Linked DNA regions of Homo sapiens: regions 1, 2, 3, 5, 6 and 7 are each linked to region 4. The links are contacts of gene promoters, found by promoter capture Hi-C in human tissues and cell types (Jung and others, 2019). All regions are on one chromosome and are shown on one strand. Each heading gives the region's core, a stretch centred on a gene start or on the middle of the fragment in contact. The rest is flanking DNA. Distances are from core to core; before and after follow the strand shown. Region 1 overlaps PRKD1 (protein kinase D1). Region 2 has its middle 350 kb from the start of LINC02326. Region 3 holds the start of LOC102724934 (a long non-coding RNA gene). Region 4 holds the start of FOXG1 (forkhead box G1). Region 5 overlaps PRKD1 (protein kinase D1). Region 6 overlaps PRKD1 (protein kinase D1). Region 7 overlaps PRKD1 (protein kinase D1).

The links. Contacts are between HindIII fragments. The study calls those that stand out against the background at their distance.
Region 1: a contact is called between a fragment that was not itself captured here and the fragment with the promoter of FOXG1 in region 4, in 1 of the 25 tissues and cell types used here (hippocampus).
Region 2: a fragment that was not itself captured here is called in contact with the fragment with the promoter of FOXG1 in region 4 in 2 of the 25 tissues and cell types used here (dorsolateral prefrontal cortex and mesenchymal stem cells).
Region 3: a contact is called between a fragment that was not itself captured here and the fragment with the promoter of FOXG1 in region 4, in 6 of the 25 tissues and cell types used here (bladder, dorsolateral prefrontal cortex, hippocampus and 3 more).
Region 5: a contact is called between a fragment that was not itself captured here and the fragment with the promoter of FOXG1 in region 4, in 2 of the 25 tissues and cell types used here (dorsolateral prefrontal cortex and liver).
Region 6: a fragment that was not itself captured here is called in contact with the fragment with the promoter of FOXG1 in region 4 in 4 of the 25 tissues and cell types used here (IMR-90 fibroblasts, lymphoblastoid cells, mesendoderm cells and 1 more).
Region 7: a fragment that was not itself captured here is called in contact with the fragment with the promoter of FOXG1 in region 4 in 4 of the 25 tissues and cell types used here (bladder, liver, lymphoblastoid cells and 1 more).

What each region holds. Positions count from the first base shown.
Region 1 is chr14:29,697,544-29,701,722 of GRCh38, forward strand. All of the region lies in intron 2 of PRKD1 (protein kinase D1), which reads right to left. Among named protein-coding and RNA genes, the nearest start is that of PRKD1, 230 kb to the right of the region's middle. The HindIII fragment of the contact is 4,665 bases long and covers 1-3,841 here.
Region 2 is chr14:29,417,641-29,421,428 of GRCh38, forward strand. No RefSeq gene overlaps it. Among named protein-coding and RNA genes, the nearest start is that of LINC02326, 350 kb to the left of the region's middle. The HindIII fragment of the contact is 3,046 bases long and covers 408-3,453 here.
Region 3 is chr14:29,391,866-29,395,609 of GRCh38, forward strand. LOC102724934 (a long non-coding RNA gene) reads right to left here and starts at 178. Exons shown (of 7, transcript XR_001750707.2): 1 at 1-178. RefSeq lists an enhancer at 1-1,277. The HindIII fragment of the contact is 4,226 bases long and covers 1-3,744 here.
Region 4 is chr14:28,763,972-28,768,036 of GRCh38, forward strand. It overlaps FOXG1 (forkhead box G1), which reads left to right and starts at 2,816. Exons shown (of 1, transcript NM_005249.5): 1 at 2,816-4,065. The coding sequence starts at 3,309. It overlaps FOXG1-AS1 (FOXG1 antisense RNA 1), which reads right to left and starts at 1,348. Exons shown (of 7, transcript NR_125758.1): 1 at 1,189-1,348. RefSeq lists an enhancer at 1,947-2,471. The HindIII fragment of the contact is 7,501 bases long and covers 2,265-4,065 here.
Region 5 is chr14:29,715,136-29,719,206 of GRCh38, forward strand. All of the region lies in intron 2 of PRKD1 (protein kinase D1), which reads right to left. Among named protein-coding and RNA genes, the nearest start is that of PRKD1, 210 kb to the right of the region's middle. The HindIII fragment of the contact is 4,614 bases long and covers 15-4,071 here.
Region 6 is chr14:29,603,309-29,606,913 of GRCh38, forward strand. All of the region lies in intron 13 of PRKD1 (protein kinase D1), which reads right to left. Among named protein-coding and RNA genes, the nearest start is that of PRKD1, 320 kb to the right of the region's middle. The HindIII fragment of the contact is 8,723 bases long and covers 1-3,605 here.
Region 7 is chr14:29,670,726-29,674,673 of GRCh38, forward strand. All of the region lies in intron 2 of PRKD1 (protein kinase D1), which reads right to left. Among named protein-coding and RNA genes, the nearest start is that of PRKD1, 260 kb to the right of the region's middle. The HindIII fragment of the contact is 5,612 bases long and covers 1-3,948 here.

The sequences.
Region 1 (4,179 bases), core at 259-2,758, 930 kb after region 4:
TCACTGCTTAGCAGTATGTTAACCCATTGCAAACATCTATTTTATTAAAATCTATGTGCAAAATCACTTTTTGGGAAAGGCAATAATGTTGTAATATAAAATGTCGTTTCATGAATTGGACTAAGAAAATTTTAGAAGATCACACTTTAGTTCCTTTTCATTTTTTTTTTGACATGATTGTGCTTGAATTTCTCCAGCAATTTCAGCAAATGTATTTTTAACTTTAACAAACAGTAAGCTTTAATGTATTCCTGTTTGACATAATGAAATTGTATAACTCCCACGACTTTCTGCTTTTTTGATATTATATAAGAACCCTGTAATTTTATATGCCAGAGAAGACAGAGCACCTGAGAATAAATGCTATTCAAACTTGTAGAGCAGTATCTGAAGATGCACTATGCATTTCTAAAGTAACTTGAGGTCAAAATTCACAAGAAAACAAGAGATGTTCAAATAAACTTTACTGAAGTGTGTTTTTCTGATTACATCTTATCTTTCAAATTTTCCCAAACACTGTTATCAGTATTCACATGGAATCTGTCAATGCATAGATATTTACAGCACTAACCTGTTGTCTCCCCATTTCAAAGAGTTGGGTATTTGAAATTAAGTTTTGGAAAAACTGAAAAATGACATTTGAAACATAAACAAATGTTTATAATCACTATTATCTGGATAATCACATATGATATACAACTTTTTAAATTACTAAAATTAAGCAAACTATGGATGGTTCTTCAGGATGTCATTTTTTAATGAAGAGAGCAAAGTAACAAGTATAACAGTATTATTTATAAGGAAAGCTTTTTCTTTTTTACAGTTTTGAAATTTCACAAAGCAAGCTTTATCAAGCTTGACAAGAGAGAAAAGATATATTAAAAATGACTTCTTAAGGAAAAATCCTAGACGGTAGATACAGATTGGCCTTCTAACTTAATTTCTGCTTTCCAGTTTGTCATATAAGTTTAAATAGTACATAAAAACCTAACTTTTCCAATTCCTTTTTAGCTCTCTAATAATGAAACTCTAAAACTCTCGAAATTGGGAAAGGGCTGGCCTTCCTTCCTCTATAGAACGTCATCCTACACCTTCATCTGCTTGCATTTAAAGCCATTTGATAATGTAAGTGCCTCCTGGACACAGCTCCATGCAATGTGTGACAGAGCTGCTTGCTGGTTTGTGAGTCTTGACAACTGACTTAATCGTGGTCTCTTTTCCCTAAAATTAAGGGCAAAAATCAATAGCATCCAGGATCCTATTTAAAATTACATCACAATGTTCAGCCTGCACTAACCTCATGAAGTAAAAGAAACTGTGTTGGGGATGAAGTAAAGAATGCCTTTTCCTGTTAGATGCTAAAGTGCAAAAACAGATTCGCGTGGTTAAGTATAGCCTTTGACAAGGTGCGATCCACCGAATACAGTCTGCTTACTTTTTTACACTTAATGCCATGAATATTGCCATGTCAATCACTACAGATTTCCTTCAGCCTTCCTTCTATTATATAGTATTTAATGGCAATGACATATCAAAATTTGGTTACCAATGGGTACTTACCATAGCGGATTTCTAATTTGTTGCTAATATCCTTATAAGAAGTATTTCTACATGTGAAAGTATTTCTAAAGAGTAAAAATGAATTGCTTGGTCAATGACTTTTTGTTTTACAATTTTTGAAAAGTACTATCAAGTTGCCTAACAAAAGAGCTTTACCAATTTACCTTCCAACCAACAGTTTGTGAGGCTGCATATTTCCCTGTACCCTCATCAGTACTGTATCCAATACTGGGCTTTTAATTTTTGACTGTCTGCTAGGTGAAAGATTAATTTGCACTTTGTAGATTACAGATGAGGTTGGCCATTTTTTTTCAATTGCGTATTCATCTTCCATTTGTATTCACATATTTTTAGTTCTTCTGTAAACTGTCCAGACCTTTGCAAATTTTTCCTTTGATTAATTTACTTGTTTTTATTTCTGAATGAGGCTCCATGTGTATCTTAATTGTTAATCCTTTGCCTTTTATGGCAAAGTTTTCTCCAATTCTTATGCTAAAGCTTTATATTTAAGGTATTTTTAATTGTTTAGGAGTTTAAATATTTGAGTAGGTTTGAATAGGGCAATGATTTCCCTTAATATTTTAGAGTTTTGACTTTGTTTCTTAGTTCTTAACTGCTTAGAATTTATTTTCTAAATAGATATCCAATTGTTCCAACCCCACCTATGGTATAACACATTCTTTGTTTTACTGATTCAAAGTGACACTGCATTTTTATACACAAATATATCTCTTTCTGGAGGCTACAGATCTGTCTTTAAGGCAAAACCACATTGTTTTAATTATTAGCTGTGTAGTACATTTTGATATCTGGAAGAGTAAGTGCTCCTTTATCATTCTTCTTTTGGAATGTATTCTTTTTGGTATTTTAAAGTTTTATTTAAAAGATTTTAAAACCAAAAGAAAGAAAGGTATAGTAAGCTCCCATTTCCCACACTAGGTTCAAAAATTATCAAGATTTTCCTATATTTGCTTAGCTTATCCCTTCTTTTTTTTTTTCCCTTGCTGAAGTATTTTAAAGCAAATTCCAGATATTTTGTCATTATACCCCTACAAATTTTAGGGTACATTTCTTTAAAAAAACCAGACATTCGCATACATAATTAAAAATGCAATAATCATATTAATTGAAACTAACAATTTCAATTATCAATATCACCTAATTTCTACTCCATAAACAAATGTCCCCCAATAGTTTTAAAACTTGTTTTTATAATTGATTTGTTTGAATAAGAGCTGAATGAATTCAATATATCACATTTGGTTATTATGTCTCTTAAATCTCTTTTGATCTAGAGAAGTCCACCTCCTTTTTCTTCATTTTTAAAATGCTGCTGACACGTAGAAGAAGCCTAATCACTTCTGCTCCTTGTTTTTTCATTTAACTTCTTCCTATTTTTTCTGTATTTCATGTAAAAGAAAGTTACCTCTGGAGGACTAATTAAATTCAGGTTCAACTTTTTGGGCAAGAATGCTTTATGTTTGTGTGACGGTTAATCTTATGTGCCTTCTTGGCTAGATTATGCTCCAGATATCTGGTCAAACATTATTCTAGATATTTCTGTGAAGGTATTTCTTGATGAGATTCCGGTAGACTTTGAGTAAAGCAGTTTACCCTCCATAATATGGGAGGACCTCGTCCAATCAGTTGAAGGCATTAACAGAAAAAAGACTGACCTCCCCTGAAGAAGAGGGAATTCTGTCAGCAGACTTGGGACTCCAGCTGCAAGATCAATTCTTCCCTGGGTCTCTGCTACCCTATCCTACAGATTTTGGACTTGTCAGCCTCCACAATCACATGTACCAATTCCCCTCGCTCTCTCGCTGTCTCCCTCCCCTTCCTCCCAAGGCATTTGTGTGTACGCGTGCGCATGCGCGCGCGCGCGCACACACACACACACACACCCTGTTGTGTGTGGGAACTCTGGGAATCCTACTTAATAGAGTTCAGAACTGTGTACTTCATTTTGCATAACATCTTGAGGCCCACAATGTCTACTTTAGTACTGATTGATAAGTAGATTCAGGTGGTTATATCTGATCTTTTCATTTTGAACTTCCTTACCAAAGTTTTATCTAAAACTGAGGCTCTTGAAGTATGATTCTCAGACTAGCAGCATCAGCATCACCTGGAAATTTGTTAGAAATGTATGTTCTTGGCCACACCCCAAACATATTGAATCAGAACCTATAGGAGTGAGGCCCAAAAATCTACGTTTTCACAAGTCCTCCAGGAGAGTCTGATGCACAGTACACTTGAGAAGCAATGCCGTAATGATTTATCCATTGATGAACACTGCCTAGATCAATGATTTTATTAAAGGCTGCAAAAGCATGACTTTCTCTTTCTCCCATTCATTCCACATTACTAGCTGAAATTTTTTCACAACGAATATCTTTTCCTCATAAATTAGTGCTATTTGGTTATTTGCAATTCAGTTCATACATGAAAGGCTACATAAATTCTGAATTCCTTACTTTTACTTGTTATTTTTTTGAATAATTAGTTGGTACCCTAATTATTTCCAGTGGTAGTCAATACTTTTTCTTTTCTTTTTTAACTCTTACATATCATGAGCTCACAGATTTTTATATATTCAGTATGCTTCCAGCAATTGAA
Region 2 (3,788 bases), core at 681-3,180, 650 kb after region 4:
AAAACAAAATTACTTTGAGGGCACTTCAGAGCACTATCCCTAGAAGCTAGGGACATGGGACAAAGAACATAGGCAGAGTGTTAGTCTGTAGCAACCAAGGCAGTAAGCTTCTGTGTGTATAGAACTTCATTCTGCCTTCCTACCTGTCTCCATCCCAGGCTCAGAAAGAAACTTAAACCACTGTGTGGATCAATAACGGTGATCCAGAATGAAGACTAGTCCCCAAGATTAGCATATGGGAAAAAAAGACCTTACTCATTTAGAACTTTTGAGCTAAATTTTCACCAAAATATTCTAAGAAATAAAAATAGAGAAAAGAGTAACTGGTGGAAATACATGGAGAGAAAGTAAAAGAATACATAAAGCAAGATGTTGGTACAAATTAAAATATGGTAGCAAGAAGAAGTGTAAGATTAACACAGACAGATATTTGTGCTTTGTAAACTGTAATACACTAAATAAATGTGAGTTATTTAAAAATAGTATATGTCAATTTTCCTTCTAATGATTATTTTCATTATATGTCTGATAGTACATGTCTCCTTGCTATTCCTGTTGGTTGAATAAAATCAAATTTTAAAGTGGGGTTACATCATCTCAGATAATTAAATCCAAAGTTTCCTAATATAAAGTGTATCCAGAAAACATAAAAATTTTAAAATATTCTCTGAACATCTAGGCCTATTGTTAAAAATAGATCTGTGGAAGCTTGAATACAAAATTTAAATTCCTGAATTTGAGATTGAAAAGTGACTCCTTAAAGAGATCATCACATTTTCACCACTTAATAGGTGTGTGACATTGGGAAAGCACTTTCTCTGACCTAACTTTTTGTATCCATAAAATAGAGATAATATTTTCCTGTACTTTTTATGGATGTTATAAAGCTAAATGAATGAACACATATAAGGCAGGTAGAACAGTGCCTGACACAGGTCTCAATAACTGGTACTGATTGTATTCTATGGAAGATTCTCATTGCAAAACAATCACCTCTCAATCATCTGCTCAAATAATGAAGAAACTGCATTGTTAATACTATTAAGAATATTTTATATAACTATTAAATAGGTTTCTGTGTTAACAGTTATACCTAAAACGTGAGTGTGAGACTCTGAAACTCCATTACAAACTGAAAATAAAACCACACTGGGAAATCTGGTTCAGCAGAATTTGACATTTTCCCCGACTTCTCTCATGCCCCAAACCATTTCCCTTTCAAACTCATGTAAAACTTAATCAGTTGCATGTGAAATTAGATTCTTCTTCTAAATATGGTTCTTTAAACTTCACTGGGGTGGAGAAATCATTTAAATAATTTGATTTGCCCTGCATTCCCCCTCTAGATTCAGCTGTTTTTAAAATCTATTTTACACACTGTCAATAAGAACTGGAAAGCATGATGCCTTCCTGATTTATTGAATGAGGATCCTTGAATCATCTGTCTATGCACAGAACTTCAACTCAGTGAGCAGATATGCTCTTTTTAACAAAACCAAAACATGTTTTCAGCGCAGTCCCTGCTTTACAGAAGCCACAACTTTATTCCTTCCAGCACTATTTCTACACCCCTATGGTTAAGGTCTGTCACGTTATGTTATAATTGTCTCTTTACTTCCGTGCCTCCTCTATTAGACTATAGGTTCTATGAAAGTTTTATTCATTTCTCATTCACATTGCTAAATATTTCCTTTATATGACATTAGTAAATTTTCTATATATATAAATATATATATAAATGAATACATGACCACTTTACACATAATTAAAGTGAGAGATGAAATGTATTTGAGAATAAAATTCATATTCCTGATTCTTAAAACTGCCAAAGATTTTGGATTATCCTCAGAGACTTGAGGAGGAAGGACTTTTACAATAATTTTACAAAATACATGAAGAAATTTCTTACAAAATATTTTTATATGCTTGGAACCAAGGGTTAATATAAAACACATATAATGCTAGCATTCACTAGAGGCTCACTTCTCTGTAGCTGCCACGTGCCTAGCCTACATCTCTTAAAATCAAATCCATCCATTTTCTAAGTTTCCTTTTTTTTTTCCTATGGCTAAGATTACAATCTATCATTTAGAGAGAATGTGACACCTAGATAAAAGCAAGTATATAAAAAGGAATCGAAACTGATGCAGAAGGAAAAAAGTACAAATAGGCTGCAGTTCTGTTAGTTAAAATGACATGGTTGGGAGCTGAGAAGATGGCACAGAAAAAAAAAGAAAAACTTTTTAGGTCATTTTTATCAAGTGACTTGTATTGTAGGAATGTGAAAACATGTCAAAAATAATCACATTTTCCAGGTTCATTGTTCTAAAATCCTTCCTCCTTCCTCTCTGATATTTGATATATTTGTTAAAATACTCATGCTTTAGTTTGAAATCAGTTTTACATTTGTTTTAAAGATAATAATATCCAAGCACCTACTACTATGTGAAATGTTTAATCACAAACCAGTCAGTCTTTGTATTGTCCTCAAGTCACAATTATCATGTACCTTTAGTACATAGAGTACATATTGCTTTACACAGATATACCAAGCAAAAGCATACTTATATGGCAATTGACAAACTAATCTCAAAGTGGTCCCCACTACTGAATGCTGAACGTTTCTCATCTTCTTTCATATGTGTGATGAAATAAAGCGCAAGAGAATCAGGAGATGCGAGTTATCATCCTGGTTCTGTCACTGGCATCATCAAGTCCCCTTCTCTGGACCAGTTTTCTCATCTGAAAAATAAAAGAACTTGGACTACCTGCTTTTTAATGTCCTTTTCTTCATACTTATATAATTCTTCCTGTTAAGGTCTTATTTTAAAAACAAGAAATGAAAAGCCTACATCTATGATAAATTCCTTAATGGATATTTTGGAATTTTTTATTAGTTGCAGTTATTTCTGCAATTATTATAGCAAATAAAGTAGAATAAGAAGCCTCTTAATATTAATAATGTGTCCAACTATGTTAAATAAAAAATCACTGGGCTAACCTTATTGTACCATTTGTGAGGGGGAAAAAAATAGTACAGTTTGGTTTTCCCTGTACTGGAGCTTGTCCTTCTCTTTTGAAGAGAGATGTTTCTTAACTCTCAGCAGCATACGTGCTTGTATAACTTAACAGATGACAAGGGCAGTTCCCCCGCAATTCTGTGCATTTTTAGCAGTGCAAAATTTTAGTTGGTGGTAATTCTAGGTATGAGAGGTGTTATTTTGTCTTTAGGATACCTTAACAATAAAAAGAAAGAATGAACCAAAAGTCAGGCATGCTTTCAACTAAACCATTAATGTGTGCTGTTGGCTAGAATTGTACTCAACCCGGGGAAACTTTATTTACTAATTCCTTAGCATTTGCTTTTATTGCCTTCATGTTTCTAATAATATATTTATTGATGTGTGCCTCATATATTTGGGGGACTTCTTAAAAGAAGTTTTTGTATCAATGTGTAAGCTGGCCATTTAAAACTGAGATGGTTATGATTTTCATGCAATTTTAAAATCATAACTATGAACCATAATTGCAAAATACAAGACAGTATATGCTGCAAAAATACAAATGCATTTAGTAGCTCAAAAGGAATAAAAGTTTCAAACCATACAACAGATGAAAAATATATTGTAAAGAAGGAAGGAAGAAAGAAAGAGAAAGAGGGAGACATGGGGGGAGGGAGGAAGGGGAGAAAGGAAAGGAAGGAGGGAAAGAGGAAGGCATCATATCTTAGGCATATGCTAGGCACTGAATAAATGTCAGTTAATCTTTCTCTGCTAGTTTGAAATATA
Region 3 (3,744 bases), core at 629-3,128, 630 kb after region 4:
AACGGGCTAAAAAAAAAAAAAAACACCTGTAATGCTAAAAGACTCAGGCTTTTGTCTGTTTCTAATATTACTTTTCTGCCTAATTGCCATCACTGCCACGTACATTAGGCCCTTTTTCAGCAGGGTTAAAACAGGGCCAGTGATGAATGGAAAACTGATTGTACTGCTGTCAAACTTGAATGTGAGGCTTATTCTAGAGATAGAAGTATGAGGAAAAGGACAGAGAATTGCACTTCATTAAAGCTCTACCAAGCTGATTGGAGTGGAGGAGGTAATTGAGATTTAAAGTGGCATTCCCATCACACTGTCCCTTTTTCAACTTAACAACTGTCATTCAAGCCACATAGGGCAACAATTGGCCAGATTTCCCAGCTCTTCTGAGTAATAAAACAGACACTCACCTTCTGGCTATTCGTTTTACTTACTTTGTTCTAATTTCCAATTCATGTGTCATTAGTGAACGAAGATTGACAAGAAATAGCTTTGACCTCACAGATTTGACCTTCAACCCCAAAGACCCAACTCTAGTCTGAACATAGGTTGGAATATGCTAAGAAACACCTTTCCTTTGCACAAGAATGAATGGCAGTTTTTTCATCATTGTACCACCCCCTGCTTGCCACTACATTTAGACTATGAGACATGTCAACTGCCTGTCACAATTACAATAGACACAGCAAACCAGAATTTTCCCCAAATCCAAGGGGAACTTCGCGAACAAAGAGTAAATTTTATTGCACAGATTTTGGAGACCTCCAATTTGTAGAGCCATAATGAATGCATCCCACAGACAAATAGGTAGTTGTTAATTATCCCAGCAATTTCTTTTTTTAATGTGCTAACAACACAGCACGCTAAGCCTTCATATCCTACTCTGTTACCTGATGATCTCATCACATTTGCAACGATGGTAGTCTGGGAAGAAGGCATTATTTTAGCAAGTATGCATGACAATAAGTTACATGATTATAATCCCTTATTTTCATGATTTAATAAAAAGAAAGTGTGATATTTTGGAAACAAATGGGTTTAGCTACACCTTTACTAAATCAGTTGAAGTAGTTTACCTATAGAATCACTTTATGATAAACGTAATCTTTGTATTTTCCTTGACTGAGTATCCTAAAGCTTAGATATACCAATTTTGTGTCATCAAAACATGCTGTGGATAAAAAATGTTGAAGGGCAAGACCTATGACCTGAATAAGAACCCTCAATGAATTTAAAAGTATTTTATGCCTTTCACACAGTTTTGAATAGCAATTGGGTCCTGGAAATCTATTATGGCAAGGAAATTGTTACGGTTTTTTTTACATTAAGTGACAAACATTTGGATGATTCTTGTGTTACATCCCCCTCGCCCCCTAAACAGAATAATGAAATACATCACTTTATCATGTCAAGTGTTCAAAAACTTGACTCCATTTCCTTCATGATAAAACATTGGGAAACACTATCAGGTTGCTGCTTTGACTTTATTTTAATGAATTGTGAAGTCATTTTCATTTTACCTGTAAAATTCATTCTTCTGCAGGTATTTTTTCCTTTTCAATCATGGATTTACTTACTTTAATGGTTGTCACAGTTATTTGTTTTTCCCTTGCAATATTCTTCTCTTATAACATGGATTCACATAACTCATTGTGCTTCACTGTATTTTCTGAATTTCTTGCTTGTGTTACTTAAAAAGGAGTATACAATATATTTTCTTACAGCAGGAGGCATTAACTTTCATGAGAAATCACAATTGTTACCACATCATCCGTAAGTACTCACAAAGCTACCACTTTCAGAAAATTTAAATAAAAGTCAAAGAACTGATTTTTTTAAATGATGATTAGCATATAAATCAAAAGAATAATTTCAGAACAGGACAAACTTCCAGGGTATGACATGGTAAGAGTTTACTAAGAATTATAAAAATGCAGGGATAAATGGAATATTCTTTATTAGATCTGTATCACAATTATGTTTGAAACACGTTTTCAGGGTAATGACAATAACACATTTGCCATCATTTTGCCTCGATGCATGTACCTTCTCTGTTACATAGCGCTCTTCCAGCCAAACAATAAAGAAAGCTCTTTGCATTTAGAATTTTGCTTTCTTGTGAGTAAATTTTTATGTCCTTATAGCTCAGAGAAGGTCACAACTTACGGTTTTATCCCAACAGCACATTAGTGATAATCAAAAGAAATAAATCTCTAACTGTTGGTAGCTTCTACAGAAATGTCTTTTATCCTACACCTGTGACAATTGCCCTGTGTTAGTGAAGCCAACAAGAGTCAGGACACAGGTCAAGGGTCAGGGCACTGTCAAGGGGAAGTTATTCTTCAGTCTACTAAATCTTATCATTTTCATCTAATGTGATATCCTCCTATCAGTCAGAGAACGTAGGCTATTGTCTTGTCTAAGTGCTGCACTTTCCTCCTCAAAGACAGTACATTTTATTACTTTTTTATAATTACCATTTTTTATCTTCAAAATTTTATCTTCCAAATAAACACACTGAACTGATAAGCCATCTCCAAGACTTAATATTTTTATACTAAAATCACAACAAGAAGTGATACTAAAAACAGGGTTCAGGTATTAGTGTTGTTTGATTGATTTGATTGATAGATTAGTTTGATTGATTTAATGGTTATATTATGAATGACTTAAAAAAAGAGTTAACTAAACAAATAATGAAATGAGTAGCAGTGGATAAATAATGAATGGCAGAATAGCTTGACAACTTTATGTGTGCCTAAGTGAGTTTATTCCTACATGATGGCACGCTCACCCTAGATATTATGGGCTAGCACATCCTGCTAGCAAGTAGGTTACTAAGATATAATAAAACATGTTCTGAAAAATATTTTCATAATGGACTTCAGTTAAGTATACACAGTTGAGTCTGCTTTTGCTATACTTGTATATAATAAAATTCGAATTCTAATGCAGTATAGTGAAAGACTCGGTTACCTCAGTGTAATGCAGTATGCAAATTGCAATTCCCCTTGTCATGAGATTTGACTCACAAGAAAAATTTGTGTTAGCGTCTTCCAAAAAAAAAAAAAACAAAAAAAAAACGATATCTCAAAGCTTTAAAAAGCAGGTTACAAGTGGCTAAGTTGGGCCATTTAGATCTTCTCTCTCATTGGGAGGAAAATAAATCACAAATAAGTTTCACGCTATCCTTTGTATCCACAGAAAAGTAAACCAAATCTCTAGCATTTCATATCTTTTCCTTCTGGCAATTCCCGTAAGGATAACATAGTGGAATGAACAGTTATAGACGGGAACTCAAGGAGCCATATGCTTTAGCCTCAAATCTGCTATTAGCCTGCTGAGTAGCATGAGCCTCAGTTTCCCCAGCTGTCAAATGGGAGTGAGAGTGTTATTCTCAACTCTATGGATTTTTAAAGACTTAACAGTATCTTTGCCCATCATGTTTAAGAGATAGAAACCTTTCTTTTGTGCTCCTTACAAAGAGTTTTATCTTAGTTCCTAATAAAAGCATATATGTTTCACCTACATGGTCTTAATCTTGGGGACAGGAATTTATCTTCTTCATTTTTTTACCTAATTACTTAGCAAAGTGTCTGTTGAATTAATAAATGGAGAAATAATTCTTATGGTAACTATATATCCTGCTTTATGCCTATTTTGACTTTATGCCTTTATGCCTGTTTAATTACTAATAGGCTTCATTCACTTTCAAACATATCCCAGTTTGGATGCCAAATTATACGGTATTCA
Region 4 (4,065 bases), core at 1,566-4,065:
TCAGCAAATTTTACATCGAAATGATTCTGTTTCTTTTCTTTGTGTTTAAAACCAGCACAGATTACAAATTTTAATGATCTGAAAATGTTTGGTATACAAAATCATGCTTATTTCAGTATTAGCAAAAACACAAGAAATTTTTCAACACAAACACCCAGCTGTGTCTATTTTAAAAGCAGTTCAATGACAGCTTGCACTTATGAGCATGCAATCAGCTAATTTCGTTTTTTTTTTCTTCTGTGTTAATCAACACTTTCCTTCCTGCATATCAGAGTACAAATAGTATAGTTACTCCACATCAGTAAATGTTTACGTAACCTGTCCTTTCCCAAGAATCCGGTTACACCGAATCATTTCACGCTAGACCGACTACGAAAACGTACCGGGCCGTCCACCTCAGAGGGAGCCCTGTGTGCCATTATAAGTGGTGGTGAGAAGGGGGGCTGTAAGAGGAGAAATTGGGAGGAGTAGGTGGAGGAATGGAGAGACAGAGGAATGGAGGGTGGGGGGAAGGGGCGGGGGGAGCTAAGGGAGAAGGAGGGAGGAGGGAGGAAGGAGAGTTGAGGAAAAGTAGGAAGAACGGGCCTGAAGAGGGGAGAAGAGTGGGAGGAGGAAAAGTGAGTAGGAAGGGGAAGGCCCACAAATCTCTCCAGCCGGTAGGCAAAGCCCATTAGCTCACCCGGCCCTGCGAGAAATCCAGAGCTTGGAAATAAATGTTTGGGACCATGTCACTATCAACACTGATTGTTGGAACCCTTGAATTTTTCCACATGTAAATACAGTTTGTTTTAAAGTGAGAAGATATGTAGACATAGGTAAAGATACATACATACAGTGGAAGGACATTTGAGGTTAGTCCAATATTCAAAGCTCCTTTGTGGCATTCCTAATAGATGCATATTTAAAATTCACTAGCTATTTGTAATTATCTATTATTCTCTCCAGTTTCCTCCCCCCCCCCCAACCTTTTCTCTCTTTCTCTTTCTTAAGACTGGGGGTGGGGAGGATGGAATAACCCCCTATTATCCTGAGTATTCATCAACCGCATTCTTTATGTTACAATTTAACTTTAGGATCAAGCATAAGCACCAATTTTCCTTCCTTCGTTTTCTTAAATACCAAATCTGCCAGATATCTTAATGAAAGTTTATCCAAGTGAAGAAATGCTTACATTTTATAATTATTTACCTTCTAGAGGAAGGAAAAGGTGCCTTTCATTTATGCTTCTCCACCTCCCTCTTCTCTGGGGCTACATCCTCCGTAAAATGTGGTATGTTTCGTGCCCATGTGGGATGAAACAGCCTTTGATCAATGTGCTCCCCACTAAATTCCAATCCCTGGGAAATGCTGGGCCTTAGCCCTGCCCCTGGCCACGGGATCCTTTTAAAGCCCCCGATTCGCAATTTCCCCATTCACTTCAACCTCCAACCGAACCTTCCCAGTTCCAAAGCCCAAGAAGCTGGGACTGTGAGATCCACGTTCCCAAGGCTCCCCGGTGCTTTCCAGCAGCACTCAGGGTTGGCAAGAGCTGGCTTCAGTATACTGTTATTTCAGGAATGAGGCCCGCACAAAATAAAAGCATTTGAGAAACGGAAAGGAAAAAAAAGGAGTGAAAATAGGAAGGCTTAAAAAAAAAACCGGAAAGAAATAGACGCCCACCCTTATTTTCCCTCCAATGTCAACAAGCAAAACGAAAATATTTCCAGGGTGATCGCTCGCAGCTACCCGCTTCCAATTCGGATTAGAAGCTGAGGCTGGAGCGGCGAGGAGAAAACGACATCGAGTCACCCCGCGCGTGAGCGACGCTCTGGAGCAGGAGAGAAGGAAAAGGAAGAGACACACGTATATAGCATGTGTTACCTGATTTATTTCGAGATTGTTTGGTACTGTTTTCTCTCTGGGCACCTCTCATTTCGGAAGGCCATCAGAGGCGCCCACTACTGAGCGGCCCCGGCCGCCGCAGCAGCACCCGGAGCCCCAGTCCCGGTTTCCCCGCGGTGCCGGAGCCCGGAGCTCGCCGCCGCCCAGGCCTCAGGAATCGAGTAAGTAACCCCTGTTTGGCCCCGCGCTCCTCTGCCCACTTCCTCCTCCTCATCTCATCGCTCCCAAAGCTCTCCCACACCCTCCTCCCCCGAAGTAAAGGACACCCCCGCACACACGCCAGCGGTGGGCCTTATCTCCCCCCTTATCCAAAGCTGCGCTAGACTATTACCTACAAAGGGCACAATTTTCCTGCTGGCTCAGAAATGCCAGACACTGGCCTGCAAGGCCGACTCGGAAAAGTAGTGCCTCGCCTCTACCTCCTCCATTTCCTGCCCTCTCGCATCCTCTCCCTGCACTCCCACTCTTCCCACTACCACCACCACCCCCGCTTTCAAAAATAAAATTGGATACAAACTTTAATCACTAAGGACAAATATTGACGCTTAAACGAAAATGACCCAGTACAATGAGGAGGAAGCCGGAAATGTGAGCTATTGGCCCTAGGAGGGGAATTTCGGTGGAGCGGAGCCGGCGGGGTGGAGGGGGTGGCGGGGGCGCAGGGAAGGGCTGCGGCACCGCGTGCTCCCGCCGGCGTATCCCTACGCGGCTCCGCGCGGCCTCGGGGTCCGAGGCCCGCGGAGAGGGGGAGGCGAGCGCCCGAGGGGGCGGCAGCCGGCGGGCGGGGCGGGGGTGGGTGGGCCCGGCCCCTCCGATTGGTCGACGGCGAGAGAGACGCTCCCGCACGCCGCCAGCTCTGATTGGCCCAGCGGTAGGAAAGGTTAAACCAAAAATTTTTTTACAGCCCTAGTGTGCGCCTGTAGCTCGGAAAATTAATTGTGGCTATAGCCGCCTCGATCGCTGTCTCCCCAGCCTCGCCGCGGCCGCTCCGGGACGCGCCCGCCCGCCGCCCGGCTCTCCCCCCCTTTGGGCTGCTGCTGCTGCTGCTGTGACTGCTGCTGCGAGAGGAGGAGGAGGAGGAGGAAGCAGCGGGGGGGGGAGCGGGGGGTGGGGGGGGAGACCAAGAAGTACAGTTGGGAGCGAGGGAGCTTCACCCCCGGGGCGGTGGTTGTTTCTTTTTTCTTTCTTTCTTTTTTCTTTTCCTTTTTTTTTTTTTTTCTAATTCCTGAGGGGTGGTTGCTGCTTTTGCTACATGACTTGCCAGCGCCCGAGCCTGCGGTCCAACTGCGCTGCTGCCGGAGCGCTCAGTGCCGCCGCTGCCGCCCGCGCCCCCCGCGCCCCGTTCGGCACCCACCGGTCGCCGCCGCCCGCCGCGCCGCTGTCCCGCTCCCGCGCCGCCGCCGCCGTTTCCCCCCGACGACTGGGTGATGCTGGACATGGGAGATAGGAAAGAGGTGAAAATGATCCCCAAGTCCTCGTTCAGCATCAACAGCCTGGTGCCCGAGGCGGTCCAGAACGACAACCACCACGCGAGCCACGGCCACCACAACAGCCACCACCCCCAGCACCACCACCACCACCACCACCATCACCACCACCCGCCGCCGCCCGCCCCGCAACCGCCGCCGCCGCCGCAGCAGCAGCAGCCGCCGCCGCCGCCGCCCCCGGCACCGCAGCCCCCCCAGACGCGGGGCGCCCCGGCCGCCGACGACGACAAGGGCCCCCAGCAGCTGCTGCTCCCGCCGCCGCCACCGCCACCACCGGCCGCCGCCCTGGACGGGGCTAAAGCGGACGGGCTGGGCGGCAAGGGCGAGCCGGGCGGCGGGCCGGGGGAGCTGGCGCCCGTCGGGCCGGACGAGAAGGAGAAGGGCGCCGGCGCCGGGGGGGAGGAGAAGAAGGGGGCGGGCGAGGGCGGCAAGGACGGGGAGGGGGGCAAGGAGGGCGAGAAGAAGAACGGCAAGTACGAGAAGCCGCCGTTCAGCTACAACGCGCTCATCATGATGGCCATCCGGCAGAGCCCCGAGAAGCGGCTCACGCTCAACGGCATCTACGAGTTCATCATGAAGAACTTCCCTTACTACCGCGAGAACAAGCAGGGCTGGCAGAACTCCATCCGCCACAATCTGTCCCTCAACAAGTGCTTCGTGAAGGTGCCGCGCCACTACGACGACCCGGGCAAGGGCA
Region 5 (4,071 bases), core at 1,072-3,571, 950 kb after region 4:
ATAAATATGCTACCAAAATTTACAAGTGTGTTATTCATAACATCATTCAATATGTCACATTGAAGGTCATTTTAGTAAAAGTATTTCTGCAGGATGTGCATGTGTGTAAACAGTGTGATCCAAGTTTATACCCTCTTTGGAGTAAAATTTGATTTATCTAGTTGCTCTGTCCAATAGAACTTTTTTCAGATAGTGAAAATGTTCTATATCAATATGGCAGCCATTAGCCACATGTCTCTATTGAACACTTGAAATGTGGCTATTGTGACTTAGGGATTGCATTTTAATTTATTTTAATTAATGTACATAGTCGCATATGGTTAAAAGCTACCACAATGAACTGTGCAGACCTAGATAAATGGTTGCACTGCATATCTCTCAGCCAATTCTCATCAATGGAATTTCATGCTTTTGTAACAAATAGACAAAATAAAAACCCAAACATTGTTATTCTCTAGTTTAAGCCTCAAGCACAAGAAATTTGTGCTGTCCAATTCAGCAGAAAACCAAAGGTTTTTTCAAACATTCTAACTAAAAACAAATCCTATCACCTCTTTATTAAAGTGAGCCAAAATAATCCCTCTTTGAAAGATACTGTAATTGCCTAAAACATTTTTCATAGTATTGTCAGATTCTATAACTCATCCATTTCATTATATCCTATGTGTCAAGCTTTCATTTTTGACATGGATTGTGATATTTTTGAAAATAAACCCCAAATAATCCAGAGTCAAATTTAGTAAATAAGCCACATGCGTTTTAGAAGCCAATTTATATAAAAAGGCAAAAATAACAAGCTAATGCCTTACTATATTTTTTAGAATGATTCTTAATATCCAAGTCCTGTTGTGCCATCAAGGCCCTAACATGGCACTTACATAAATTAGACCAGACCGTTAAACTTCCATTCTAAGAAGCAAATATAAGGAATTTTTAGCTTCACAGTAACCAGAGCATAGAGACAAAAGTCCCCTTTGTGTGGTTTTCATTGCCCTCGTGTTCTTTTCCTGTTTTCATGGGTGACAGTTATAATACTGTCTTCAATTAGCACAGTAATAGATGAAAAGAGAAGAGAAGCAGAAACAGTAATTTCTGGCTGAAAATCCACTTGCCAGATGTTGAGGAACTAGGCCTTAGGCTAATTCTGTGTGAAGAGAGAAGCTTGATATGTCCTTCCATGAAAACCACGGTATGTATTGCTGACAGAGATCTATGGAGATTTAGAATCCAGTTCTGGAGCACATGACTCAACTTTTTCTGTAGGTCTTGCCAGCTGACCCTTAGGCAGGGACAGCTGTTCTGCTAAATGGATAAAACTACAGAGGAGGAGGGGAAGAAGGAACAGCAGGAGAGGTCAGCCAGACCTCAGGATATCAATCCTCTTTCCTTCCAGACTCTGAAATAGAAAGGCCAGAGCCCAAGGCCATCTCCAGGGCCACCTCTTAGGAGCTGTAACGAAGATATGAAACACAGAGGCTCCAGAAAGAAAAAGACAATGAATAAATTGACGAAGTCAAATGAGATGAGTATTGGGGGGTACATCAAAAAGGAGTAACTACTGAATACATCTCAGAAAGAAAGCAAGAATATTTAGGAAGAAAAGAGCAATGGTTGGGAAAACTGATTCACTGAAGAGTGAATTTAGTACAATAGCAAATGGGGTTATTTGGTCATGGTGATGAACACAATCCAGGAATCATAGAAATTAGGAAAACAATTGGTATTCCATGAATTAAGTATAATTTTGCTTGAGAAATACTGTGAAAGAAACTGCAATGTTTAAAAACAGGACTTTTAAAAATAAATAAGCAATTTTCTAAAAGACATTTTTGACAATATTTAGGAGATAACAAGAGTCCAGAAAAAGAAGAATTAATCAGATGATAATATTAATTTTACTAATAGATTATGTCAAGAAGAACTAATAAAATTCAATTCCTATACAACAACATTAACTTTTGGATATCATACATAGGACATCAATTTAATTATTCATGTATTTGCTGGCTTGTACATTTCATTGATTTAAGGATTCATTCTTTCACTCAATAAATAGATATTGATTGCATGTGATATACCAGATCCTAAAGTTTCAAATATTAAAATAAATCGTTCCTATTTCAAGAAATGTGTAGTGCAGTGGGGTGGAGGTGGGGTAAGAGGATTGAGTACTTTACATTTGGCAACCATCTTGTGAAATGCTTTATATTTATTCTCATGAATTCTACAGCCCAACCATATATTGGAGATACTGTTAATGTTATTTTACAGCAGATGGATCAAGATTCAGGGAAATGGGGTGACTTGCTGAACATTATATAAGAAATAAATGACAACTCTGGGACTGAAACCAAAGTATTGACTGAAAATCAACTACTTATGAAATTGAAGCTATGTGGAGATATAACATAAATATGATGCATATTTCTGAGTTAATATATGTGAAGCACTTGGAACAGTGCATAACATATCATAAATATATTACCATCACTATTGTTATGTTACCATCACTATTGTTATATTAACATCACTATTGTTATTATTATTTCTAAAAGAACAATATGTGGCAAGAAATATTATTTATTTAAAAGTATACAGCATGAAGAATATAATGCAGCAGAATGGAAAATGTGCATAAAATTTTCATATGAAATAAGAGGCTTCAAGACTTTTCACTTCCGGGTTTGTCTTATTCCCCAGTTGACCTGGACAGAATTTCTTCCCTCTGCCTTGATATTTAGGGGTGCTTGAGGAAAAATAGATGGAGAAACAATGCACTATTGTGTCATTGCTTCTCCATCTCCTCCCTGGAGAATCCATTTTATCAGGAGATAAATAACCAAGAAAACTATCAAAGTGAGGAAGAAGTGCACCAAGCACAATATCCCTACTGAAGTCACAAGTAGGGAAAAGTGGGAGTCTATGGTAACATTCCAATCTGCTTGCTGTCTGCATTCTCTTCTCTGAGAAAATGGTTTAGTGTGGCACAAAGAAATTAAAACCAGGTTGATATGGTTAGGCTTCGTGTCCCCACCCGAATCTTATCTTGAATTGTAATCCCCACGTGTCGAGGCAGGGAAGTGGTTAAATTATGGAGGTGGTTTCCCCCATGCTGTTCTCGTGATAGTGAGTGAATTCTCACAAGATCTGATGGTTTTATAGATGGTAGTTTTCCCTGAGCTCTCACAGGCACTTCTGCTACTGCCATGTGAAGAAGGTCCTTGCTTCCCCTTCACCTTCTGCCATGATTGCAAGTCTCCTGAGCCCTCCCAACCATGTGGAACTGTGAGTCAATTAAGCATCTTTTCTTTATAAATTACCCAGTCTCATGTAGTATCTTTATAGCAGTGTGAAAATGGACTAATACACAGGTTTACTTGAAAGATAAGAATGGAAAGAGAATATTAACAATCACAAAAAGGAAATGCTGAAGACACATTTAACATAAGCCATACTTGGGAGAAAAGAGAAATGACGTGTATTTTCACATTTAGATTTTCCACTGTTACAAAACCACCTGCAAAGAAAATTGCAACTGAAGTTAGAGAAGATTTGGCTCCATTCAGCCTGTGACACTTAGATGTCCAAGTACAAACACAAGGAAATATAAATTGAGCATTGAAGGCCAGGTCTTATAAAACCTTAGTTGCCCAAGTAGTAGTAGGGCTGAGAAGGTGTTGCCCACAATTAATTCTGCCTTCTTAAAAGCAAACAAACAAAAACTATATCTATGCAATATACTTTTGAGGAAATAATACAGTGATTTACTATATCACTCTTGGGGTTTTTATCTTCTGCCTAAATTTCACAGAAGATAAAATATTGCTACATTGCTAACCAATGTATTATATCTAAGACAAATTAATATAATATTATATCTAAGAGAAATTAATATATAAAGTCAGTAATTTGCACTTTCTATAAAAGAAAAAAGAAGCTTAATAAAATGTTGTTACCATATTTTTTTTCCTGGTTTATGATTTAGGCATTGAATCGTAGTAGGAGTAAAACATGCTTATAAGGATTTCTTAAATATAGTGACCCTAAGACACTATTTCCATTTTGATCAGA
Region 6 (3,605 bases), core at 807-3,306, 840 kb after region 4:
AAGGCCATCATAGATACTTACTTAGGAACTGTATTTTTTCTTGCATTGAAACAAATGGCCAAACTTGTTTTTATATTTGATAGTAACAAAAGAAAACAAAACAGACTACATAGATCATGCCTTATTTAGTCAAACTTCTTATACTGCACTGATAAGAATATGCCGTTAGCCTAGAGAATATATTAGAAGACTGGAAATAAGAAAAAAGTTCCAGCTATTATTTCTCCATTTTCATGTGTAATTATTATTTTTTAATACCTTAAGTACAATTTTAAAATAAGTTCAACCAAGGTGGTCCATGTGACTTTTCATGAACAGTTTTAATTTTTCATATAAAATATGAAATAGCCTTTAAACCATTTCCTCCTAATGTCCAAAGTAACAGAATTATTAATAATTTTAAAATGGCAAGAAGACTGCAACATCAATCATGGCATAGTAGTGTGCAAAAAGAGTTTTGCCCAACTTCTCAGGCTTTCCACAGAAATGCAGATAAATTTCATGGCAGAGCAAGCTACTACAGGACTCTCTGGCCATCTGTCTGTTGCATTTAAGCAATTTAATTTTCAGGAAATGAAACATTTGGCCAAGTACAGGAAAAAATAGTGTCCATTCACACATAACAGATTGATGACATATTCACGGGGTGAATATAAGTTGTTTCGATGCCTGGGAGGAAATATCGTTTGTAGATCAAGACAAAAACTCTCCTGACCCAAGTTGCCTAGAAAATGTGTATATAATCAATGGAAATTAGTCACTAGAATCAAAAGCTTTTATAAAAGTAATATCTCAAGAAAATAAAGAATTGACTAATTCTAATTTTTTTGTTTTTACGTAATTCTCATTTACATTTTTTGATTTGTGTTAAAGGATATTCTTTAATATTGGTATCTAAGTACTAATATTCTTTAAGTCTAACATTGTTGCTTTATTGTAAATCTAGAGTTTATAATTTATTCCATATATGTAGTTTCCACCTTCTACCTTTAGGATTATTCTACTCAAACATATGAGAGGTAGGAAAGAGGAGAATTAGATTCAACCTATCTTTGCAATAGGTCTTTAGGAGCAGTGCAGTCTTAATATGGGGACCTCTGACTAATTTTCTGTCAAAGAACAAACTGATTTAGTTCATAATGAGATAGAAAAACTAAATATAAAAGTGATGAGCCTAGGATCTAAATTCTAAATGGTATGCAGATCAGAAGGAAGAATATTCCATCACACAATGGAATGGGTGGGGGGCATGAGGTACAGTACTGCAGCAGTGGCCTTGTCGACTCTCATTCCTGCCAGTTTGCCAGGGTCAAGAGAAGAGCACACCTTCTTATCCATTTTCTAATTACTGTCTCTTATAATTTATGCTTCATGTCAAGGTCTTAGAAATCACAATCCTTAAACGCCTTATTAAAGGGAAACAGACTATACTTACCTGATAGAGAATAAAAAGTCATCTTGCAGAGAACAGACAATTATAAAAGTATTTGTTAAAGATAATACCCAAATTGATATGATAAGATCTCCTAAATTCCACAATCTTATATTCAATTGTCTTTGGGGTATGTTCATTTAAATGGAAGAGGTCCAACAATGACATCAGCGTCTCTCCACCCAAACTTATTCTTCTAGTATTTCTTCGCTTGGCAAATGGCGAATCACCTAGGTCAGAAACCTTGAGCTCATCCTAAATGCTAACTTCTCTTTCACTTCCAACAACCCACTGGTCTCTAAAAGTAATAGAGCCCACCTCCTTCATCTCTCACACTGACCCCTTACCTTCATCCTCACCTCTGCTGCCTTGGTTCGAGCCCTCATCTCTTTTACAGGGATCCACCACAGCATCCCAACTGATCTGGCCTTAGGTCTTCTTCTCCAATCCATTCTTCAAAAGGCTGCCACTGTGATCTTCCCAAAGGTGATTCTGATGCTACCATCTTGCTTCAAGCCCACAAATGAATCACCACCAACTTCTGGATAAGGTGCCTACCCTTAGCAAGGCATACAAAACCCTTCAAAATCAGCTCCTTTTTCTCTCTCTGCTTAAGTATTTCTCCAGCTTTGTCTCTTCACCCAAATATCCACCCTTTTTGCCACCCTAAAACCATTTTTATAACAAGCCACACTCTCTCCTTTCTATGTTTTCATACATACTACCCTTCAGCCTGACCACGAACGTTTATCGGGTGTGAATATTCAGCTGTCAGGTAACTTTTATTGACTCTCCCAGTCTGTCTTGGATGTCTCTCTACTCTCAGAGTCTTTGCTATAATCCCCTTTCATAACACTTATCCTACCATATTTGGTTGTTGGTGAACCTATTTGTCTTATTTACAAGGCTACAAGCTCCATAAGAGCTATAATTTATCATTTTGTATTCCCAGTCAATATAAGTCTAGTGCCTGATACATACTAAATATTCAACACATTTGCTAAATTTGATTGAAAGATGAAGAGTCTCTACGTCTCCTTACTTTTCATTAAGTGAATAATATTCTTTAAGATCTCCATGGCTTTTAGATATGCTAGTACGTGTTCGACATATTTAGTGATAGTACATTTTGCATCAAGTACGATATATAGTGATAGCCTCTCTTCAGAAAAAAATACAGCACATGGCTTTTTAATTGAGTTCTCTTAAATCTGTTAGTCGGAAATTTCAGGAGTCTGATGACAAATATGATCATAAGTAATGACTTTTTTTTTCTTTTCCTTTTTTTTGGAGACAGATTCTCACTCTCTTGCCCAGGCTGGACTGCAGTGGTGCAGTCTCAGTTCACTACAGCCTCCCCCTCTCGGGTTCAAGAGATTATTCTGCCTCAGTCTCCCAAGTAGCTGGGATTACAGGTGCCCGCCACCATGCCTGGCTAATTTTTGTATTTTTCGTGGAAACGGGGTTTCACCATGTTAGCCAGGCTGGTCACAAACTCCTGACCTCAAGTGATTTGCTGGTCTCGGCCTCCCAAAGTGCTGGGATTACAGGCATGAGCCACCACACCTGGCCAATAATGACTTTTTTGATAAATACTAATAATATGGATGTGATTCTCAGAGATGCCACTACTGATGAGTTGCAATGATTTCTCTAGGACCAAGGATATGATAAAGACAGTCTCTTTCACTTTTTAGGTACAACCCCCTCAAAATCTACCAATTTTGATCAGTGTTTTTGTAAAGATTTCAACATCTTTGATAGGAAGAAACATGATTTTCCTATGCTCTAGGAGACTTGTATTTATTTAATATCTAGCTCTTAATAAGGAGATACTTTAGATTCAGATCATTCTCAAAAGCCACCAGGAAACAGTTATCAGCAAGAGATAAGCAAAGTAGCAGCACAGTCAGGATATTCCCTTCCCTCCATGCCAACCCTCATTTACATTGTGAAAACCTTACTATGATTCCATCATTGTCCTGAGGATGAGAATAAAGAATTGAAAATGGGCTATTCAGATGATAATGACCACTGTACCTCTTTTACTTCTTACTTAGAAAAGGTCTTTCAACTCCTCTTATTTTTTTATTTAACCCAGAACAGGTTTGACTACAAGGAAAGCCTGGAAACCTGGAGCTTAATTTCAGGAGCAAGTTCTCTGAAGACAGAT
Region 7 (3,948 bases), core at 886-3,385, 910 kb after region 4:
CCAAGGTTGGTCATTTTTTCCTGCTTCTCTGTTGATCCCAGTCTCTCCAAGCCAGTTTTAGATCAGATTCTCCCTTCATGCAACCGTTGTTCAAGTTAATCTCACATTTCACATTTTTGTTATACCTGGAAACATCTAGAGTTGTGAGGACCCACAGCTCTCCAACAACAAGAACATTCAATAAATTCTTGCAGAGGGACTTGCAATAACATCTTTCAGATGGGTGCTGAAAATGAAGGGAATCTCCATTTTTGACTTAACATCTGACCAGAAAATTGTTAGTGAGGTGCAATGATGGGAATTTGGGAGGCTGTGAATATATCATCTCAGAGATCATAGTAGCCAAGAGAGAAAAAAAAATGTATTTAGATAGGTTGACTAGGCAGCTCAGAAGTTTCTGGGAAGTTATTTCCTAAGTTTGTGGTTAGAGATTAAAAAAAATATGGCTACAAGAGAAAAAGGTCTCACAAGCCAGACTGAGAACACAATAGCAAGTTGCCCTAATTAGGAAGAAAAGGGACTGGTAACTAGATAAATGTTGTGACTGCCCAGGGAACTGTCTGATGAGCTCATGTTCAGAAAAGTAAAGAATCAACAGCAGAAGGACCAGCACAGAGTCAGGTTGAATGCAAGTAAGTGGCTCCGGCCAGAGAACCACCCTAGGAAGGCCAAAAGAAGGAAAAGCTGAAGCTTTTTAAAAGCTAAAAGAGAACAGAAGGCTTTTCAGCTGGGTGTTTCATGTGGAAAGAATGAAGCAGAGATAGGCCTCAAACTCAGAAATAAATAGTTTAATGCTAACAGACAAAATAGAAAAAGCTATTCAATTATATTTTTGTTTTTATCTTTTCTAGAAAAATAGACCATCTTTAAACTAAAAGAAAAAAAATAGGAAGAAGTAACATATCAAGAAGAAAACAAAGTCTAGGATGGATGAGAAAGGGGCTTTAAAGAAATTATTTTCAATAGGCCCAAATGAATTATAGATGAGTACTTAAAAGCTTATTTTTAACTTTAAGAAAACATCTATCTCAATATCCTAACAGAATGTTGTTTGCTTAATGAAATTATTCTAAAGCCCTTTTGTAAGAAGAACAGAACATATTCTAATAAGAATAGAAAAAAGTAACAGAAGAGTAATAAATAAATTTTGCCCTACTTGATATCAAAATATTCTATAAAATGTTGATATTTTAAAATATGGGTGGCTGTGAAAGATAAAAGAGAGAGATAAGCAGGCTAGAATTAGTGACCCAGAAATCTACCCTATGTATATATTTAAAATATTGTAAGTCTTAACAGAAATCAATGTCAAAGGTGGAGATATCATTTAACAATTGGCCGGCGTGGTGGCTCATGCCTGTAATCCCAGCACTTTGGGAGGCCAAGGCAGGCAGATCACGAGGTCAGGAGATCCAGACCATCCTGGCTAACACAGTGAAACCCTGTCTCCACTAAAAATACAAAAATTGGCCGGGCGTGGTGGTGGGTGCCTGTAGTCCCAGCTATTTGGGAGGCTGAGGCAGGAGAATGGCGTGAACTTGGGAGGCAGAGCTTGCAGTGAGCCGAGATCGTGCCACTGCACTCCAGCCTGGGTGACAGAGCGAGACTCTGTCTCAAAAAAAAAATAAAATAAAATAAAATAAAATAAAATAATTAACAATTAGTAACGATTAGCAACATAGGGGAAAATACTACTTGAAACAATATTTCCTCTCTTATACTAAAATAATTACCTGCTGAGCAAAAAGTTAAATAAAAACACAAAATCATAGAAAAACTAGAAGAGAACAGAGTGAATCCTTATTAAATCTCTGGTGACAAGATGACTTAGAAACAAGAGGTCATAAATCTGCAGTGATGGAAGAAATCAAATGAAAAAGACTCATTAGCATGACCATGTAGGCACTACTGGTTGACTTGCCAAGGAATCATATAATAGTCTCTTTAATTCAGCATAGTTACAGTAGATTTATTTATAATAATTATATATTCTAGGTCACAGAAATCTAATTATGCTTAATAACTCCAGGTATATAGAACAGAATTACTAACATTCAAGGAGAGATTCCCCAGGCAGTTTTAGATTCCAGACAAGCAGGTAACCAGGCCTATGTTCTATTATGAAAATTAAGAAAGTTAACATGTATTTACTCCTTCTCAGAAAAAAAAAAAGAAATTCTCCTCTTCATTTTTTTAAACCAGAAGGATGCACCGGGACAGTAGGAGTGTTTGATAGCAGGGCTAAAGCCTTGCTCAAGAAATAGCTTAGGATCTGTTCATGAACCCACAGAGCTACAGTTAACACGTGAAGGATCCTTTATTTCTTTTCCAGGCAGCTGAGCTCTATGGCTGCTGCAAAACATCTGCTTTAGAAGCAGCAACGCCTCCTGCCAGGAAGATGTTGCTTGAACAAAATAGATACAAACTATGCACAATTATTATCTGTCCATTAAAAGAAATAAATTTATTTTTAAAAGCTTTATAAAAAATAAAGGTATGTTTACAAAATGGAGCCTTTATGTAGTAAAGGACGAGAGAGCTAGAAAATGGGATTATTTTATGCCATCTACCTCCATACTTAGTTGGCCAAGGATACTCTCCTCAACATACTTTTTCTCCAGCCATTTCTAAGAATGCGTCACCGTCTTTCACGTCAATCCCTCCTTCTGTTTTGCATACATACTTCTCAGGCAGCCAGGTTCCACCTGATCCACACCTCAGCTCAGTGTCGCCTATTCTGGGATATGCCTACCCCCACCTGCAAAAGACTGCCCTCTTCTCTTTTCCATAGCGTCCTGGACACTTCTGTCATAAAATGTATCACTGAATATTGCCACCCCTTAATTGTTTATCTGTTCACACATAACATTACACACTGCAAGACCACAACTTCTCTAACTGTGCAGGCACATATTAAAGTGATTAATTCTCGTAGTTAAACATGTTGCTTCCCTGCAGTTCTAAGGCTCTACATTTTATTGAAGTCCTAATAATCTGTAAATAAAGTATTTCAAGTTCAAAAGTAAATTCCATCAGAATAATATCTTGGATCACAGTTTACAAAGTGTCTAGCAGTGCTTTCCAGAGATGTTTTTGCTAGTACCTTTCTATTCTAAGCGCAATATAGTGTCAGTAGTGATAAAATGCATGGACTGAGTGCCAGGGAAGACCTGGACTCTGATCCTGGTCACAGCAAATGCATGACCTGGGGGAAGTTACTTCACCTCTCTGAACCTCAGTGTCCCTTTCTATAAAATGGGCTTCGTGTGATGCATCTCACTGGATTATGAGGAAGACACAAAGTAACTAGTATAGTCCTTGGCATACCGGTGGGAGCTGTCACAAAAAGTTTTTAGCACAAGGATGAAGTGTATGGGCTTTGTGGTCAGAAAGACCTGGGTTAGAATCACAGTTATTATTAATAATAATAATTATTGTCACAACCATCATTACTAATGGAGAGGAATGCTGTTTCTAAGTCTGTTGCCAATTCAGGGCCCTTAAAAACTAAGGGCTATAAAAACTAGTATTATTTGTCTCTTCTACTACCTTATAAAGCCTATGTTTCCACTCCAGAGGAAATTGCTTTCCTATCTACTGTTCTGGTTAACACTAATTAAATGGAGCTGGGTCCATAGGGCTGTGTCTAGTTCCTTCCCTAAAATGAATCAATTAACAGTTGGGAATTGCAGTGGGGAAAGAAGGGTCACCATATCCTGATGTGACTGAATGACAAATGCCACAGCTGGAAAGAGATTAGAGAGCATCTCAGGTCAAGAAAGAATATAAATGGTTGCCCCATGTGTCCAACGTAGAAGAAAAAGAAAATTAAGTAAAAATGTCATGGAGTCAAATTCTAGCTAATGAGTGCAAGCACTGCAGGCACCCTGAATAGAGGGAAAGAAAGGTCAAATCTATTTTTCTTAGAAAGCTCCATCGTGTACAGGA